Linked DNA regions of Homo sapiens: region 1 is linked to region 2. The links are contacts of gene promoters, found by promoter capture Hi-C in human tissues and cell types (Jung and others, 2019). All regions are on one chromosome and are shown on one strand. Each heading gives the region's core, a stretch centred on a gene start or on the middle of the fragment in contact. The rest is flanking DNA. Distances are from core to core; before and after follow the strand shown.

What was found. Contacts are between HindIII fragments. The study calls those that stand out against the background at their distance.
Region 1: a contact is called between a fragment that was not itself captured here and the fragment with the promoter of VKORC1L1 in region 2, in 3 of the 25 tissues and cell types used here (dorsolateral prefrontal cortex, hippocampus and mesenchymal stem cells).

The regions. Positions count from the first base shown.
Region 1 is chr7:65,755,045-65,758,407 of GRCh38, forward strand. The region is part of intron 2 of LINC03006 (long intergenic non-protein coding RNA 3006); the gene reads right to left. It overlaps SNORA22 (small nucleolar RNA, H/ACA box 22), which reads left to right and starts at 482; the gene lies at 482-615. It also overlaps the pseudogene CCT6P1. The HindIII fragment of the contact is 6,285 bases long and covers 1-3,363 here.
Region 2 is chr7:65,871,703-65,874,909 of GRCh38, forward strand. VKORC1L1 (vitamin K epoxide reductase complex subunit 1L1) reads left to right here and starts at 1,372. Exons shown (of 3, transcript NM_173517.6): 1 at 1,372-1,863. The coding sequence starts at 1,670. RefSeq lists silencers at 1,064-1,123, 1,144-1,643, 1,357-1,536, 2,084-2,153 and enhancers at 1,219-1,770, 2,322-2,873. The HindIII fragment of the contact is 24,487 bases long and covers 1-3,207 here.

The sequences.
Region 1 (3,363 bases), core at 86-2,585, 120 kb before region 2:
TAATACTAGCGGAGGCCATACAGTAGGATTAGGGGGCTTAAATCTGGGTCTTTGTCTTGGTCTAAAACAAATTTGTTGTGAGCTTGGACAGGTTATGGAACCTTTTTTGGCCTGAAAATAATTTTGTAATCAAGTTGAATTGCCTATGTGATTTGTATCTGTCTTTAGATTAATAATTGAGATTTTAAAATGGGATGTTTAGGACTAGGCATATTTATTTGTTAGGAAAGAGACAACCAAAAGCTTACATTTAGATAAATTCCACTTTTTTAGCCCTGACTAGTTCCAAGGTTTAAAACAAACCTCAGTGACTACGAATCTATTGTCAGAATTTTCGGGTAAAAGAGAGCAGATAGTCTTTATTTATTTTTATTAGTAAATGATGGAATTAGTTTGAGATTACCTATAGAAAAGATAGAATAATGCTACCATCTGTGAGTTGTTGGGACACAGTGTCGGTTTTGACATGATTCGGAGTGGTTTGCACAGTGAACACCCAAGTGTGCTTTATAGTTCCCTTGGCTTTGACCCTGTGCTAGAGCATTGCCTGCTCTTCTCCTCTGCATTAAAAGGAATATTTATCCTTTTAAATGTATTCAGAAAGCCAGCACATTATATTACCTCGTGTTCAAAGATAGGATGATCAGAGTATCCCTCCAAGAATTGTCTGAACTTTATCATGAACTATAGTTGCACCTAATTGAAGATGCAAGTGTTATTGTGTGTTTATTGTAGGGCCTTCATCCCAGAATAATCACTGAAGGATTTGAAGCTGTGAAGGAAAAGCCCTTCATTTTTTGGAAGAAGTCAAAGTAAGCAGAGAGATGGACAAGGAAACACTTAAAGATGTGGCCAGGGCATCTCTTTGTACTAAAGTTCATGCTGAACTTGCAGATGTCTTAACAGAGGTATGTATTAAATTTTGTCTGTGTCTGGTATGGTACACCTATGTAGAAAATCTCTGATAGTAGAAACATGAATATAATTACCAATTTCAATCACAAGGTGCTATGTAGGTTCATTTTTGTGGCAGTGATACCTAATCTGTGTCTCTAAAAAGTAAAATGAGGAAATTCAAATAATAGTATACCTAACCGGGTTTTAAAAGTAAAATTGGAGCTTTCATTAAAAGGTTTATAAAGTGGAGATTTTGTTATTAGAAAGCTTCCAGTTATCAGTATTTTTAATGAAACACCAGGAGGAATGTTAATGTTAAGGAATGTTAATGTTTGAGAATTACAGATTGAGATTTCAGAAATGTAACAGCTGTTCATATATAATGTATTCTATCTGCTTATAGAAAAATACAAATCAGTGTAGAGATTGTAAAATGAAGAAACTGTCTACTTTAGCCTTCTGAAAAGCAACATGTTTCTGCTGCTGCAAATTGAATTTACTTAATGGTTATCCTTCTCCTATTGCAGGCTGTAGTGGGCTCCATTTTGGCCATTAAAAGAAAAGATGAACCTATTGATCTCTTCATGATTTTGTGATCATTGACAAGAAACATAAATCTGAAACTGATACAAGGTAGGTGGTAGAAGACTATGAAATACTAATGGTCGGGCCTGGTGGCTCAGGCATGTAATCCCAGCACTTTGGGAAGCCGAGGTGGGTAGATCACCTGAGGTCAGGAGTTCGAGACCACCCTGGCCAACATGGGGAAACCCCGTCTCTACTAAAATTACAAAAATTAGCCAGGCATGGTGGCGGGCTCATGTAATCCCAGCTACTTGGGAGGCTGAGGCAGAAGAATTGCTTGAAACTGGGAGGCGGAGGTTGCAGTGAGCCAAGACCACACCATTGCACTCCAGCCTGGGTGATAAGAGCAAAACTCCATCTCAAAAAAAAAAAAAAAAGAAACTAATAAAGTGTGTTTTGAAATTTAGGGGTGCTTTGTACAATATATATTGTTGGCAAAATTTTTAATATATTTGGATATAAAATATTGTATATTTACCTGAAGATATCAGTTGGATAAATTGCTAGGTAAAGATATAAGTTGGATAAATTGCTAGGTGAAGATTGTTTTTACTTTTAGTAATATTTTCTCCTGAAATAAGGTGAATGTTATGTTGTATTTATGGGTAGAATTATTCCGAAAGGTGAACAACATCAGTCATTTGGCGTTTATTGAATTGCTAGGTACAAAGCATAATGAGAAGCAGTAGAGGAATTAAAAAAATTTTTTTTTCTAAAGACTTAGTTAGAAAACATGTATATGTTCATTTTTCCTTTCTTTTTATGGAGAATGGAGTCTCCTTATGTTGCATAGCCTGGTTTTGAATTCCTGGGATTAAGGTGTCCTCTCACCTCTGCCTCCCCAAGTGCTGGCATTACAGGCACTTGGCAGAAAACATGTTTTTAAAAGATATCATCACAGTTTGACAGCCTACCAGGGAGACTATCTCTGCAGACTTTTCTGTACAGCATAGGATCTTCAAGTAATTCAAGAAACAACGCTGACTGCATGAAAATTATCAGTGCCTTCTCAGTTCGGTGTTTAACGTACACCCATCTGGAAATCAATAACCATAATTTTGTGTATGTTTGAACAGCTTAATCAGAGGGCTTGTTTTGGACCATGGAGCATAGCATCTTGATAGGAAGAAAAGGGTGGAGGATGCATATATCCTCATTTGTAACGTGTCATTAGAATATGAAAAAACTTAAGTTTATAGCCCCTTAACTTAAATGGAGGAGCTTCGTGTTTTAGGTGAGTTACTTTTTTGTGAAACTTCGTTTCCCACTGTAAGGACAATAATCCTCAAATTGGTTTGGGAGAGTTATAGGAAACAGCCTCTGAAGATGTGCAAGGGGCAGGATTGGAGCTCAGTGAGCTGTTTGTTAAATCTTAGGACTAATCCAGTTTCAGAAGCTATTTTCTCAAAAAATAAATGTTTCCCTGCTTTCTGTAACTTTTTTTTTTTCTTAATAGAGAAGTGAATTCTGGCGTTTTTTACAAGAGTGCAGAAAGAGAAAAACTCATAAAAGCTGAAAGAAAATTCATTGAAGATAGAGTTAAAACAAATAATAGAACTGAAAAGGAAAGTCTGTAGTAATTCAGATAAAGGATTTGTTATTAATCAAAAGGTGAGAATGAAAATCCAGTGTATAAACTAAATAGTATGTATCATCCTTTTTACTTTTAAGGTGAAAGATGTTGAAACTAATTTTTATTTTTGTTATAGGGAATTGACCCCTTTTCCTTAGATGCTCTTTCAAAGAAGGCATAGTCGCTCTTCACAGAGCTAAAAGGAGGAATATGGAGAGGTATGAGTAGCAGATTTATCTGAGTAATTTGACTTTTACTTATTTTGCAAATGAATTGGGATTATTTTTCCTTATACTTTATTTTTGGGT
Region 2 (3,207 bases), core at 122-2,621:
CCAGAGAGGACCTCAGGCCTGCCAGCAGCAGTGGAAGTGAGTTTGAAAGAGGATTCTGAAGCCTTGAGAGAGCTGCAGCCCTGGCTGACAGCTTGATTGTATCCTCATGAGAGCCTGAGCCAGAGGACACAGCTAACCTCACCCAGATTCCTAGCCCGTGGAAACTGTGAGGGAAAAAAAAGTTTATTGTTTATTAACTGCTAAATTTGGGGTGATTTTTACCCAACAATAGATAACGAATACAAGGATATTGCTTATTATTCAAAATCACTATATAAAGCCCCTGAAAAATTGAAAGCTGCAACCAGGGAAACACTGAAAATCTCCAAGAACCCTGTGTTTCTTCTTAAAGACAGTGAGAAAAAGCACATACATCTGTTTTCCTTTTAGTTTTGGCCACCAGGAAGCTCAGAGCCAAATTTATGATGCAATTTTAATAACTATGTAAGCCCCTATGGCCTGCTTATCTGTGTTCTTATTCCTGGCCTTTCATTTTATTCTGACTTTTCTTTTTCTTCGTCCTGATTGTATTAGCTCATCTTTATTTTTCTATATTATATGAGTTATGGTAAGCAACTTCAAATTCAGCTTACGGAAAAGCAAGGCATTCGTAAATCTCTCTTTTTTTTTTTGAGACTCTTACTCTATCGCCCAGGCTGGAGTGCAGTGGCACGATCTTGGCTCACTGCAACCTCCACCTCCCGGGTTCCGGCAATTCTCATGCCTCAGTCTCCCGAGTAGCTGGGATTACAGGCGCCCACCACGACACCGGGCTAATTTGTTTTTGTTTGTTTTTTGTATTTTTAGTAGAGACGCGGTTACGCCATGTAGGCCAGGCTGGTCTCGAACTCCTGACCTCAAGTGATCCACCTGCCTCGGCCTCCCAAAGTGTTGGGATTACGGGTGTAAGCCACTGTACCCGGTCCATAAATCATTTTTTAAAAATAGTTTTTAAATTTAAAACATAGTTTTGCACATTAAAAAAAAAGTTTTGCACAGGTCTAACCGAAGGTGGTGGTGGGAAGATCAGGTCATAGGTGTGGGTCTCTGGAGCTCCAAGCATTGGCCAGGGTTGATTTGGATTGGGTCAGAAATATACAACGAAAAAGGGAAAAAGGATGGCAATTGATTGCCATCCCCAGAGGGAGGGGCCGAGGGTTCGCCCAGTCACCCACAGTGGCATCCTTGCAATGTGCTAGTTAGACCGCTCCTTTAAGTCCCTCCCGCACTGGCCCGCTCGGCCCCGCCCCTCTCTGGCTCCGCCCCTCCCCACCCCTGCCCCGCCCATCCCCACCCCTGCCCCACCCCTTTCTCCCCCGGGCTCCACCCCTCGCGCGCGACCGGCCGCGCGGCGCAGCGCCACGCCGCCTCAGTCTCCGCCCGCCGATCCGGCCTCTTCGGCCGTTGCGCACTCCACCCCCTCCCTCCGCGCCCGCGCGCGCCTTCCCCGCCCCGTCCGCCTCACTCCTTTTGGGGCGGTTGGGCCGCGCGCCTGTGGGGGCGGGGCCCGGAGCAGGCCACCGAGCCAATGGGGCGCGGCGGCGGCGGCGGCGGTGGTGGCGGCGGCGGCGGAGGCGGCGGTGGCGGCGGTGGCGGCTGGGTCGGGCCCCGACGGGCGGCGGCGGCTGAGGTGGAGGCGGAGGGAGGCGGCGGCGGCGGCGGCGGGAAGATGGCGGCTCCCGTCCTGCTAAGAGTGTCGGTGCCGCGGTGGGAGCGGGTGGCCCGGTATGCAGTGTGCGCTGCCGGAATCCTGCTCTCCATCTACGCCTACCACGTGGAGCGGGAGAAGGAGCGGGACCCCGAGCACCGGGCCCTCTGCGACCTGGGGCCCTGGGTGAAGTGCTCCGCCGCCCTTGCCTCCAGGTAGCCGGCTTGGGGGAGTGGGCCAGGAGCGGCCGAGCGGGGCGAGGGTGGAGTCTCGGGGTGGGGAGCGCGCGGCGGGAGCTCAGGCCTGGGGGCGGCGGGGACCGGGCCGCTGGGGAACTGACGGGGTCGGGTCGGGGCCAGGCGGGGGGCGGCGGCGGGGCGCTCCTGCCCGGGGGGCGGCCTGAGCCCAGGCCGCGGGGCGGAGGTGGCGGGGCCGCGAGGCAGCCGGGGAGGGATGAGGTGGCAGAGTGCAGCCGGGAGGCCGGGGCGGACGCGGAGCGGTCGGGCGGGCTGGGGCCCGGCTGTGCAGGAGCGCGAGGGGGCTGCGGAGGGTGGGTCCAGGCTGGCTTGACAGGTTTCCTGGTTCTCGGGAGGCGGGCCGGGGGTGTGGGACCTTGTCCACCGCACCCTTGAGACCAGCGGCAACCTCTTGTCCCCCCGATCGCTGCAGCCGAGGCTTTGGGGCCGGCGCGGAGACAGGGGGGTTGCCTTTCCCACTGTCTTCCTGGTGCTAGGACAGGTGTTTCCGTGGTCAGGCCTCTTTGTACTCCAGCGCTAGTGAGAATTTGCAGACTTAACTGGGACGGTGACATTTGCTGGCAAACACGAATTTGACCCTACTGTGGAAGAAGATACCCGCACTTAACATATCTGATTTCTTGGATTCCCTCTCGTATGTTTCAGTGTGCCAGGAGAAGGAAATGGTCTGAGTTTGGGTCTAGTTTAAGCTTCATTGGAGTAAAGGACAAGTATGTTATGTATATGGTGGTGTTTTAGGCATTGGAATGACTTTTAAACGTTGTTGCCTATTAGCATATTCGAGACCAGCATATTGGTCAGGCTGGTCTCGAACTCCTGACCTCAGGTAATCCACCCACCTCTGCCTTCCAAAGTGCTGGGAATCAAGCATGAGCCACCGCGCCTGGCCTGCTTAAGTGCTTAAAATTGACTTTTCTTGGCCGGGCACAGTGGCTCACGCCTGTAATCCCAGCACTTTGGGAGGCCGAGGCGGGTGGATCATGAGGTCAGGAGTTCAAGACCAGCCTGGCCAACATGGTGAAACCCCGTCTCTACCAAAAATACAAAAATTAGCTGGGTGTGGTGGCATGTGCCTATAGTCCCAGCTACTCGGGAGGCTGAGGCAGGAGAATTGCTTGAACCTGGGAGGCAGAGGTTGCAGTGAGCCAAGACCACACCATTGCACCCCAGCCTGGGCAACAGAATGAGACTCCATCTCAAATAAATAAATAAAATATAAATAAATAATTTTTAAAAATTGACTTGTCTTTAAAAAAGTGTATTTAGCATACACTCTAAATATTCTCATAGTTATATCCTGCA